3 separate regions of the Homo sapiens genome follow, and all the other regions are linked to region 1. Evidence: promoter capture Hi-C in 16 types of primary human blood cells and fetal thymus (Javierre and others, 2016). All regions are on one chromosome and are shown on one strand. The core of a region is centred on a gene start or on the middle of the fragment in contact, and the rest is flanking DNA. Distances in the headings are between cores, read along the strand shown. Region 1 holds the start of SRP14 (signal recognition particle 14). Region 2 overlaps BUB1B-PAK6 (BUB1B-PAK6 readthrough). Region 3 overlaps BUB1B-PAK6 (BUB1B-PAK6 readthrough).

Region 1 (4,054 bases), core at 1-2,500:
GAAATAATAGCATCACCTGGTACCAAGAAACTGCTTATTGAAGGCCCAGCACAGTAAGGGGCTAAGGAATCAAATATTTATGCCAGCTGCTCCTTACAGTACTACGAATAAGGACCAATATGCTACTTTCATTTCCACAAGAGCTTTAGCAGAACTAACGACTGTCTGACCTCTACCTTCTTATTTTATTCTTGAGGTTTCCACTACTAAAGTATAGGAAGGTCCTGGTCTCAAAAATAGCCACACAGGGCAAAAGGGAAAAACAAATAAAAGCCTGGTTCAGAAACGCCCCATCCTCTGTTAAGTTCAAGTCTTTACATTTCAAAAGACAGCCTTAGAAATTAAGCTCACCACAGTGCTGATCTTCTTCTTCCCATCGGTAGCTCTTAACAGACACTTGTTGTCTGCGGGCTCAAAGCCCTCCACAGTACCCTTCTTTGGAATGGGTTTGGTTCGACCGTCATCTGAAGGAAAAAATGCATCCTGGTGAACACGGCCGCGTACGTGGCTGAGCGGCAGACAAACAGTTAAAACAGAGGAGTGGGGTAAGTGATGACCTAACCCAGCCCCGCTGCTCTAGTTTTGTTAAACACCTCATCTGCTATCACGGTCTGGCGAAACCCTGGAGAAACTATTATTTCCACGACGGAAACATGTAATATCGAAGCACGTTAAATTCCACTCAAAGTGGCGGCGTCTGGGATCCCTGACAAAGAGCCCTGGGCTGCTTGGGGCCCATTGTTACCAGAAGCAACCTAGGCGGCTCAGTGCTGGGGACTGAGCCAGCTACAATCCCTACTATTTTCCGGGCCCGAAGCCCCGAATGTGCTCAGTACAGGGTGGGGAAAGGTAGAGGAAGGCGGCGGTCCGCGGCAGACAGACTCCGGTGGCTCCCAGACACCGGGAACCCAGGGAGCATCGCCCGGCTCCCCTCCCGCTGCTTACACTTCTTCAAGGTGATATAGACGCTGCCCGACGTCCGGCACTTCTGGAAAAGTCTGGTCAGCTCCGTCAGGAACTGGAAAACAACAGGCCCAGCCCCGTTAGCCAGCCCCAAATCCTCGTCCTGCCGCGTCAAGGCCCTGGTCCTCCTGCAGGAGGCACAGGTCTCGAGTAACGCCTGAGCCGCCCCCTTCCCTCGGCCGGCCAGGCCTAGCCATACCTGCTCGCTCTCCAACAACACCATCGCGGCGACGCTGGCTCGACTCCCTCCGCTTAAGCCCCTAGCAGTGAGAGCCGGAAGTTCGGCCTAGGCTGGGCGGGACTTCCGCTACTAGACTTCCATTGTCTTCCACCAATCTCTTCTCTTCCACCAATCCCGGCCTGCGCCCTCCCCCCTCCCCGCCCGCCTAGCGCCCGCGCCCTGGGACGTCCGGGGGCCTGTGACCCGGAGGCGCTGGGGCTGTCCTGGGTCGTCACATGCGAGAAATCGTCTCACCCCAGCCAGTGTGACGGAGTGAGAGCAAAAGAAAGTTTTGATAGCAGCGTACGATTTATATTCAGCTGTATGCTGGGCAGGTAACCTAACAACTCAGTGACTCAGTTTCCTTATCCATAAAGTAAGGGTAATGATAGTATCTACCGCGCAGTGTGGTCGTGAAGCGTAAATGAAACTCAGATTAAATACGTAGAACAGTGCCTGGCACATAGAGCGTGTTCAGTAGGTATCAGCTATTGTTCTTTTCATTATTGTCATTATAAGTTCCTGTAGAGATCCTTTAAACTCTCCCTAAACGCTGACCTGCAGCTCTAGCCAGAAGGGCTGGGCCGGGCGTGGTGGCTCACGCCTGTAATCCCGGCACTTTGGGAGGCCGAGGCGGGTGGATCACGAGGTCAGGAGATTGAGACCATCCTGGCTAACACGGTGAAACGCTGTCTCTACTAAAAATACAAAAAAGTTAGCCGGGCGTGGTGGCGGGCACCTGTAATCCTAGCTACTCGGGAGGCTGAGGCAGGAGAATGGCGTGAACCCAGGAGGCAGAGCTTGCAGTGAGCTGAGATCGCGCCACTGCACTCCAGCCTGGAAGACAGAGCGAGACTCCGTCTCAAAAAAAAAAAAAAAAAAAAAAAAAATGAGGGGCTGGAGCCCAGTCTTTAGTTCTACCTCTGATTAGTCAGGAGAACTAGGTTGTAAGCCCTCTCTGCCACTAGCCAACTTGAACCCTGGGCCCTCTATAAAGTCAAGCATTCCACCACACAAGAGGTTTTCGCTGAGTGCCTCTCAGTCTGTGCCAGGCACGGTTGTAGAGGTTGGGGATGCAGCAGGATAAGAAAAGCTAAGTTCCTGGTTTCCTGGAAGTTGGGTTAAAGGGGCAGGGAGGAAATAAACAATGAAGCAAACAAGTAAGTAGTACAGCTTCAGATAATGAATTCCGTGAGACAGCCTAAGCAGGGCTGTATAATGAGAGTGGGAAGGGGACTGCCTGGGTTGGGGTCAGGGGAGTTCTCGTCGAAAAGGAGAACTTTGAGTTGAAAGCTGAAAGGACCAGCCATCCAAAGATCTAGGGACACAGTGTTTCAGACACAGGGAACGGCTAGAGCAAAACCTTCAAAGGGGAAACAAGTTGCCCTGTGTCTGTAAGACTGGCAGGTGCGGGTGGGGGTGAGGAGGGCTTGTGGAGCAAGGAGTAAAGGAGTATGGAGAGGTAGCTGGGGACCAGATTATGTAGGGCCCGTGACCATAGTAAGCCTGGATTTTGTTCTAGATACAAAGAGAAGACTCGTTAAGGAAGTTTTCAACAGAACACTGAAAATCTGATTTATATTTTTTAAAGATCCCCCTGTCTGTGTTGTGGAGAATGCACTGTAGAGAGACAGGGCAGGAAATGAGGAGCCCAGTTAGGAGATTCAAACTTAATGGCTTAAATATGTTCACTCTCTGATTTCACATTTTCTTCCAAATGGCCAGCGCCCGTTGCCCACTTCCTGCCCTAGGCTGATGACCTTGTGTAGCCAACCTGTATTGGCTTTTGGTTCTCCAGCATTTGAACCTGTTTGCAATCCCCTGTTGTGTGGGTTTTGGTGAGAGGCAATAAATAAATAAATAGAAGGGTCAGAGGGTCACTCTCTCAACTGCCCTCAGCACCTGGGCTCAAGCATATGACCTAACGTGGGTCAATCTGGTGCTCTCAACCAGGACTTTGACTTCTGAGCTAGTAATACCAAGGCCCAGGGCTCTTGCATGGGTGTCCAGTCATTTGAATGTGAGGATGTTTTTGCTCATCTGTATTGGCAGATATCATGAAAATTATGCATGGGCCCTTTTTAAAAAAATTTTATCTCATCAGCTATCATTAGTGTTAGTGTGTTTTACATATGGCCCAGGACGATTCTTTCAATGTGGCCCAGGGAAGCCAAAAGGTTGGACACGCATGCTAGAGGTTATTCATATGGTGCCATCACAAAGTGGTCTTGTGTTGGCGGCCCTATAGGAGGGGTTTTCACCAGACTGTTCTAATCTTTGCTAGTCTTGAGGTGTGCGAAGATGACTCCCCAATTTTTAATTATAGCTTTTACCTCTGTATTGAGCTCCAAACTTGCATATTCAGCTGTCCACTTGGTAGTTCCACCTGGATGTGTAATGAGCATCTCAGATATTACGTGACCAAATCAAAACTTTTTACTTCCCACATCTTTGCTATTTATTAAATGGCACCACCGTCTGACCAGTTACTCAAATAAAAACAACCATGAATCATCCCAGATTCCTTTTTCTTTTTGAGGCAGGGTCTCACTCTGTCACCCAGGCTAGAGTGCAGTGGTGCAATCTCGGCTCACTGCAGCGTCCACCTCTCAGGCTCAAGCTATCCTCCAGCCTCAGCCTCCTAAGTACTTGGGTCTATAGGCATGAGCCGCTGCCACCAGCTGTTCTTTTTCTTTTAATTTTCACATCTACACCTGCATGAGTCCTGTTAGCTATCTTGAAAGTTTAATCTGATTGCAATCACACTAGCATCTGGACTTCTGCAAAAATCTCGGTGGCAGGCTGGATGATCCCCCAGAGATGTCTATGTCCTAGTACATGGAATGCGTGCATTGCACTGGATCCAGTGCA
Region 2 (4,054 bases), core at 792-3,291, 220 kb after region 1:
AGCTCAGCTGATTGCTTCTGCCAACTCCCACCCTCACCATCACCACTCCTGGCCCTGGGACACCCTCTGGGCTGTCCTTCTTTCTTCTCCAGCCTCCCTGCTGCCTCTGGGAAGAACTTGTTCCGGAATGGCTCACTATTAGAATGGACTCAAGAGAGGCTCCCAGAGTCAGAGACCATTTGCTAAAGATGCTCTCCCTGTGCATCCCCACAGCAAAAGCTGAGCGCTTGGGTGGGGCAGGGGAGTTGGGGAGAGGGCTGTTCTGGGGTGGGTGGTGGGGGGCGGATTCACCAGCTCTTCTTCAGCTGCAGTCTGTGTCCCTGCACCTCCAGAAGATTTCACAGAGCTAGGGAGGAGGGCGAAACAGGCAGCTCAACTAATCCAGGGATAGCAGGTCTATCCAAGGGACTGGGGGAATAGACCTGCTGAATAAAGACTCTTCTGTAGCAAAAGGCAAAGGCTGTAATCCCAGCACTTTGGGAGACCAAGGCAGGTGGATCATTTGAAGTCAGAAGTTCGAGACCAGCCTGGCCAACATGGTGAAATCCCGTCTCTACTAAAAATACAAAAATTAGCCGGGTATGTTGGTGGGTGCCTGTAATCTCAGCTATTCAGGAGGCTGAGGCAAGAGAATCACTTGAACCCGGGAGGTGGAGGTTGCAGTGAGCCCAGATGGTGCCACTACACTCCAGTCTGGGCGACAGGGCGGCAAGACTCCTTCTCAAAAACAACAACAACAACAACAAACAACAACAAAAAAGGCAAAGGCCAAAAGGAGGAGGACAAATTTTACCAAACCATGATGTATATATGGCGAGGTCCCCAGGTCCCAGACCCCTGACATCAGGCATGACCCCTTTGACTGGTAAGTCTGAGCAGAAAGTGGTTTGGTGTTACTCCCAGACTTGTATCTGCCCAAGTGCCAGTGTCTGGAGGGCCTGAGCTTCAAGACAGGGATTCAAAGAGAGGTGACATCACAAGAGAAACAACCGTCATGTATGGGGACTCTGCTTACTTCACACACCCTAAACCCTATGAGCTGTCTTTCATTAACCCCCCTGGCTCAGATCATTTCAGTTATTTGTTCAAAATCTCTCCAAATTATTAGTGGGAGACTCCCTACAACTCATCTGCAACTCACACAGGTTGTTTTATTCCAAAGGGCTTGGTCTGTAAGGGTCCTGTACATGTGGCTCTACCTCTAGGGGGTGTTCGGTGGATCCCGAACCTCAAGACCCAGAAGCATGGCTGACATTGAGATGTGACGTGGGCTCTGATTGAGTCACGCATGGTGAATTCCTAGTGGGGAACCACTGGCTGTCCAGGGTCCCTGCCTTTCTGCCAGCTGCCTCCCAGATCTGCGACCTCCTTCAGAACCTGCCAAAATGACTAGGAAAATGCTGTTTCCATAGCAAGAGCCAAAAGAGAACATGACGGCCCTGCACTCCAGATCTTCGGGCGGATGAGTAATCCAAGCTTTCAGTTCAAGAATCATGTTTCAGTTTCTTGAAGCCTGGAAGTGACCTTTTCAGATACATAAGAACCCAGTGAGCTGTTCTGAGCCTCTTCAGATCCAAAAGCATTCAAGAGGCAGCCCTGGCCCTGTCTGCCATCAACATGTGATCCCAGGTCCGGGATCCCCTGAAGGCGAAACTAGAGCAACCCTTTGGAAGTGTCCCTCCCCTTCCCAGGCCCCCAGTTCCCCACTCTCAGATCTACCCATGCTATCCATTGCAAGCCTGTGTCACTTCTGTGTATGCAGCTCAGCACGACCTTAGGCAAAGCCAGAATCAGCAAGGCACGGGACACAGGCTTGATTGCAGGTTAAGTGTTTTATTGTTTGTTTTTTGAGACAGAGTCTCATTCTGTTGCCCAGGCTGGAGTGCAGTGGGGCAATCTCAGCTCACTGCAGCCTCAGCCTCCTGGGTTCAAGCGATTCTCCTCCCTCAACCCCATGGGTATCCGGGACTACAGGCACGTGCCACCAGGCCCGGCTAATTTCTTTGTATTTTTAGTCAAGACAGGTTTTCACCATGTTGGCCAAGCTGGTCTCAAACTCCTGACCTCAGGTGATCCACCCGCCTCGGCCTCCCAGAGTACTAGGATTACAGGCATGAACCACCATGCCCGGCCCAGGTGATGTTTTACATAGAGCTCCAATACCAGAGAGAAGAGTGTCAAGGGGAGGTGGTGCTCTCTGCCTTCTCTGGAGAGCTTTACCCCTAAGTTAGCTGCCCCTCACCCACCCCAGGCTATCCTCTTGGCTCAGGGCCTTTCTGGAATTGAGGTAAAGCACATGGTAACCATGAAGGCCCTTTGGGGGCTCCCTGATACATAATAGTCCCACACCGGGCAGCATGTCTGTGATCAGCTGGTTGGCTTTTTATTAACGTATCATATTAACAGGTTCAACCATCCTGGGACAAAGCTGAGTTGTAATAAAAAAAAAAAGCCAACAAAAAAATAACTTTAATATACTGTTGGATTCAATTCGATAGTTTTAAGATTTTCATAGTTACGTTCCTAAATGATATTGAGTCAAATTTTCCTTTTCTTGCACTCTCCTTATCTGGTTTTAAGAATCAAGGTCATACTCGTTTCATAAAACAAGCTTGCTAACTTTCCTCCCTCTTTCCCCATTTTTAAAATTCGTTGACAGACAGTGGAATGATACTTGTAATGGGCTTTGGATTTTATAAAAACACACCCCCAGAGTCTGCCTGCTCCATAGGGGACTTGGCACAGGCAAGAAGACACCTCTTTTCCTTGTTTATAGTCTGCACTGGCTTATTTATGGCACGTTTGTTGTTTCTGGGACTGTTCTGCTGGGAGCCAGCCATTTCCCTGAGGAAGCAGAGATGGAGGTGGAGGGAAGCCCTAGGCTTCTAGGGGAGCTGTGCTGGGGGAGGGGAGGGAGCCCTGAACCTGGTGCCCCAGGCCCTGCTGCAGCCACCCCTCTTTCCCGGGAGGGAGCTCAACCTTACTCTGCACTTACAGGCACCATGTTCCGCAAGAAAAAGAAGAAACGCCCTGAGATCTCAGCGCCACAGAACTTCCAGCACCGTGTCCACACCTCCTTCGACCCCAAAGAAGGCAAGTTTGTGGGCCTCCCCCCACAATGGCAGAACATCCTGGACACACTGCGGCGCCCCAAGCCCGTGGTGGACCCTTCGCGAATCACACGGGTGCAGCTCCAGCCCATGAAGGTAAGAGGGGCCGGCAGGGATGAGGTTCAGCCTCTCCCAGTACTCAGACAACCATGCCTGGCTAAACCTCAGAAAGGCCCCTGGAGGAACCACCTACTTCACAGCTATCAGTTAATCAGCTGTTTTAACTCCCTGCCTGTCAGCCTGCCATTCTCTCCCTGGGTAAGCCAGGGCGAAGGAGGCTGGGGAGACCCTCTCTGCAGGGTGGTGGGGTTGCCAGATTCAGCACATGAAAATGTGAGATGCTCAATTGCATTTGTATTTCAGATGACAACGAATAGTCTTTTAGGACGTGTCCCATTCAATATTTGGACCTGCAGCCCCATAGGGACTGAGGGCTCTCCCAGACCAGGAGAATTTTAGTTGTGAGGGTCACGACTAGTAGACCCAAGAGCCTGGTAGAAGGTGGGGTCAGGGGCCCTATCAGGGTTTGGAGGCTGCGAAGCCAGTGTGTGTGGAGGAGCCCCCGGCCTGGTGTCTCTTCCTCAGAGGGCTGGGCACATCTCTCCCAGCCACCCGTGGAGCTAGAGAATGGAGCCCCGCCCCCTGAGCTCCAGCTCCCTGGCCCAGCCGACCACACCCCTGGGCATGCTGGATGCAGCCCCATGGCACTCACCATCTGCTCTGCTGACGCTGGGCCTTCTCCCCGCATCCCTGCATCCAGCACAGGCGGGACCCACGGTGGGCCCTGATAAATTATGGAAAAATTAATGGGTGGATGACACAGCAGGGAAGGTCCTTAGGTGGTCCTCCCCAGGGCCCCCAGGGACATTCTCTGACCCTGATCTCCCAGCCACCCCTCCCTGCCACAATTGGGCAGCTCCCACACACTCTTTTCTCTTCCCCCT
Region 3 (4,054 bases), core at 551-3,050, 200 kb after region 1:
GCCCCACGGGAGCTCATCTAGCTGGGGTTGAGGCCTTTGGGGCAAGCAAGGAGTCCCCTCTGCAGGCAGGCTTCCCTGGCGGTTGTCCTGGCCCAGGCTTGGAGGTGGCACCTGGGAGCCCTAGTGACAGAGCGCCTGGTCAGGGAAGGGTCGGCACCAGAGGCAAGCCCTTCTGGGAGCAGCTGATTTGGATGGAAGCTCTGTGCACCTGAGAGGGGGAGTGTGGGGACTGCACGGCCTCTCCAGTGCCCCGAGGACAAACTGATGCTTTGTGAGTGCTCTGGGCCCTCCCGGACTTGCCAGACACAGGGAGGGTGCAGTGGGTGGGGTCTCCAGCCAAGGAAAGCCCGCTCTGTGCACAACTCCTAAGGATGACCAAAAAGTCCCCTGCCCTGGAGGAGCACATGTGCTCAGAGTCAGGAGGAACCCATAAGTGTCTCTCATGCCAGTGAATTCCCACACCTGGCTCCTGGATGAGGAGAATGACCCAGCTGTGGGGGTATCTCATGCTGCCTCACAAAAGGTGACTCTGTGCCTAGGAGTCTTCCATGCATGCAGAGCTGAGCAGGGGCTGCTGCCCAGTTGGGGTCAGAGGGGCGGAGGCTGTCGAGCACTAGGTAGACAGCAGGCCAGCAGCGGGCAGCAGGTTGGGCCAGGAGGGAGCAGAGAGTAGGGGCCAGGGCAGGCTGAGCAGGAAAGGAAAAGGCTGCCTGGGGTCCTGAGGGCTCAGGGAGGACTCCAGACAGCTGGCCTTCTTATGCCAGCCCGCTTCTGTGGGAGAGGCCCTCTGCGTAGGTGACTGGGCAGGGAAGAGGCTAAGACACTGAAAGATTGAATTCCTCACCCAAATGGCCCAGAGATGCCCACCGCACACAGTGTCCTGGGTGCAGAAGGCAGGAAGGACTCATGGGAGGCTGTCCTGTGGACTGAAGCAGAAAGTCCTTCCCGTAAGATGCGCTCGTCGCCCTGAGCAGGAAGGCCCAGGCTGCGGAAGCAGTGCCTGAGACCTGAGCAGCAGGAAGGACACCAGTAAAGCTCATCAGGAGGCATCTGGCCGCCTGCACCTACCGGGCCTCAAGGAGAGAGCTTATTTCTGGGAGCCTCCTTGGTAGAAAGAGGTGGACTAGCCAGCAGGTTGGGGAGGAGCATTGCAAATGGAAGCTTCTGAGGGCAGAATGAGTTCTGAACTTGCTGAAGCCAAGGCTGGCCCTCCTGCCCAGGGCGAGCAGTCTGCCTGGGCCTGGGAAGTTGTCCCCTTCTGAGGAGGTGCCCTCCACCCCACCAGAGCTCAGCCCTAGGGGCCAGGAAGGGCTAAAGCGAGAAGAGTGAGATGTGAGATAAAGGGGACCGTGTCTCTTCCTGGGAGGGTGTGGGGTCCAGGCAGCACCTTGTTCTGGCGCACAGGCTGCCAAGCAGATGACAGCCATGGCCTGACTACTAGGTGCAAGCACTGGTGGCAGGAAGAGGGGGTGGACAAAGCAGGACAGAGCTCTTGCCCTGGGGATGCTCATAGCCCTGCAGCAGAGCAGTGGAAAGGAAAGCTGAGCTGAGCGTGGGGCCAACCGCGCCAGAAACAAGCGGAGCCACAAAGCCACCATCAGCCCCCAGGTGGCTTCGTCCTTTTGCCAACTCTGGGTCCAACTCATCGCTGAAGTTGGCAGCCATGACCCATCCAGCCCAGATAATTTATAAATTTACACCAATACTGGGCAACGGTTCTTAACATAGAACTTTATAAAGATGGACAAAAAAGATAAGTTGAGAATGACAAACAAAGGAAGAAGCAGCTTCTATCTGCAGTTGCAGGAGGAGGTGAAGGCTCGGGGAGATAGACCAGGGCGGGAAGAGGCAGGATGGTGGTTGGTTAACATGAAGTCAGCAGCATGAGCCTCAGGCCCGGTGCTGCCTCTTCCTGGTGACTCGGGCAAGTTACTTCATGTCTCTGGGTCTCAATTTCCTCTCCTGTCCAACAGAGATAATTATAGTACCTATGAGTTAGGGTTGTTGAGAGGATTAAATAAGATAATAAGTGAATGCTCTGAATGGCATGACTGGCACATACGTACATGTTCAGCAAGAGATAACTATTATCACCGTGATGATAACTGGTGTCAGAGGAACAAAGTGCCAGGAGAGACCATACCTTGTTCGGGGGAATCAGGAAAGGCTTCACGGAGGAGGTGACTTTGAAAGAACCCTCCTCTGAGGAGAAACAAAAGCTCTCAGAATGCCCAGGAAAGCTGGGAAGAAACAATAATGCCAGGTCTATTTTTTTCCCAAATAGCATATTGTTTGTCCACTGAGGCTTTCTAAGGAATAACTTGAGACTCCTCTTTCTGGGGTCTAGACTTGGAGGTCTTGAGGACTTGAAGTGGGCTGCCCCTAGTGAAGGGATCGAGAGCCGGGCTGTGGCCCTGGCCCTACTCCTTTTGGGGACTGGAAGCTTTTTTCACATGCTGGTCCTAACTGCATGAGGAACTGTGTTCTGCTGAGCCCCATCTAAAGCATACACTTGGTGATGTGGCAGGCAGAGGGGCCAGACAAGGCCACGGCAGGCTCCTGGATCACTCTGGCAAGTAGCTTAGAAATGCCTAGTAATCGTGGGCAAGGTGCAGTGGCTCACGCCTGTAATCCCAGCACTTTGGGAGGCTGAGGTAGGCAGATCACAAGATCAAGAGATCCAGACCATCCTGGCCAACATGGTGAACCCCGTCTCTACTAAAAAATACAAAAAATTAGCTGGACGTGGTGGCGCGTGCCTGTAGTCCCAGCTACCCGGGAGGCTGAGGCAGGGGAATCGCTTGAACCCAGGAGGCGGAGGTTGTAGTGAGCTGGGATCGTGCCACTGCACTCCAGCCTGGCCACAGAGCAAGACTCTGTCTCAAAAAAAAAAAAAAAAGGCCAGTAATCGTGAGGTTCCATCTCAGAGACTTTTGTTTTCTCTTTTTTTCTTTTTATTTTTTTTTTTGAGACAGAGTTTCGCTCTTGTTGCCCAGGCTGGAGTGCAGTGGCACGATCTTGGCTCTCTGCAACCTCCGCCTCCCTGGTTCAAGCGATTCTCCTGCCTCAGCCTCCCAAGTAGGTGGGATTACAAGCACCCACCACCATGCCCGGCTGATTTTTGTATTTTTAGTAGAGATGGGGTTTCACTATGTTGGCCAGGCTAGTCTCGAACTCCTGACCTCAGGTGATCCGCCGACCTCAGCCTCCCAAAGTGCTGGGATTACAGATGTGAGCCACCACACCCAGCCTGCTTTTTCTACAAAGGATTATCTGTTCTATGAATTTAGGAAAGGTAATCCTAAAGCTTATTCACCTAAGAAAAACAAGGCAACCCCAGAGCATGACAGGCTTTCTTGGGCTGGGGGAACTCACATGTGAAAAAACAGGTTCCCTCATAACTACATGAGAGGCCGCAACTGCCTCAGCCCCAGCAAAGGGACACCTCTGCTGGCCAGCATTTCCTACAAAACCTCATCACGACACATCAGGCAGGGCAGAGACCCAAGTATTCACATAGGGCCAGTGATGACTTTTTTTGACACCTGTGGATTCTCCGTGGCAACCTATTCCCCAAAAGTGCTGCCTCGGTCAGCCAATCCCAGTGTCTCTCTGCCTAGGCAACAATCTCTTGTGCTCTGGTCTGCCCACAGCCTCCATGCACTCAGCTCTTTGGGCCTCTTGCTAAGGGGCTGGAAGCAGAGCTGTGTCCTTCAGGCTGTCAAGGACCTGGTGAGGGATCCTCTGGGTGTCCAGGGAAGCAGGTTCAGAAAGCTCAGTTCAGCTGGTGCTGTATTTTGATCTCTGATCCCAGTGCAGCGGGGACCAGCCTACTCAACTCAGTGCAGATAGCAACAAACCAGTCACCTTGCCCAAGACCTCCTGCTGCCTGCCTGCCTGCCTGGTGACCAGGACTCCTAAAGGCTGCAGCAGCAGCAGCAGAGTTAAAACTTTAAAACCGGGAGGACTGGTTCTGTGGCTCAGCTTCCTGGCCTGGAGAGGCTCTAGCCTCCATTTTCTTTCTTTCAGCTTATGGAATTGTGCAAGAAAGCAC

The links. The method cuts DNA at HindIII sites, captures the fragments that hold promoters and counts their contacts. A CHiCAGO score of 5 or more calls a contact.
Region 2: a contact is called between a fragment that was not itself captured here and the fragment with the promoter of SRP14 in region 1, in 15 of 17 cell types (naive B cells, total B cells, naive CD4 T cells and 12 more). The highest score is 22.5, in naive B cells.
Region 3: a contact is called between a fragment that was not itself captured here and the fragment with the promoter of SRP14 in region 1, in 5 of 17 cell types (total B cells, naive B cells, megakaryocytes and 2 more). The highest score is 9.4, in total B cells.

What each region holds. Positions count from the first base shown.
Region 1 is chr15:40,037,931-40,041,984 of GRCh38, forward strand. SRP14 (signal recognition particle 14) reads right to left here and starts at 1,251. Exons shown (of 5, transcript NM_003134.6): 1 at 1,163-1,251; 2 at 946-1,018; 3 at 352-464. The coding sequence starts at 1,186. It overlaps SRP14-DT (SRP14 divergent transcript), which reads left to right and starts at 1,381. Exons shown (of 3, transcript NR_040060.1): 1 at 1,381-1,518. It overlaps LOC124903471 (a long non-coding RNA gene), which reads left to right. Exons shown (of 2, transcript XR_007064596.1): 2 at 1-479. RefSeq lists enhancers at 269-1,214, 915-964, 985-1,164, 1,215-2,159 and a silencer at 1,245-1,454. The HindIII fragment of the contact is 8,433 bases long and covers 1-4,054 here.
Region 2 is chr15:40,261,784-40,265,837 of GRCh38, forward strand. BUB1B-PAK6 (BUB1B-PAK6 readthrough) reads left to right here. Exons shown (of 10, transcript NM_001128629.3): 3 at 2,998-3,206. The coding sequence starts at 3,003. It overlaps PAK6 (p21 (RAC1) activated kinase 6), which reads left to right. Exons shown (of 11, transcript NM_001395430.1): 4 at 2,998-3,206. The coding sequence starts at 3,003. Among named protein-coding and RNA genes, the nearest start is that of PAK6-AS1, 11 kb to the left of the region's middle. The HindIII fragment of the contact is 1,135 bases long and covers 1,475-2,609 here.
Region 3 is chr15:40,241,447-40,245,500 of GRCh38, forward strand. The region is part of intron 1 of BUB1B-PAK6 (BUB1B-PAK6 readthrough); the gene reads left to right. All of the region lies in intron 2 of PAK6 (p21 (RAC1) activated kinase 6), which reads left to right. Among named protein-coding and RNA genes, the nearest start is that of PAK6, 4.4 kb to the left of the region's middle. RefSeq lists enhancers at 878-1,377, 3,702-4,054. The HindIII fragment of the contact is 1,282 bases long and covers 1,160-2,441 here.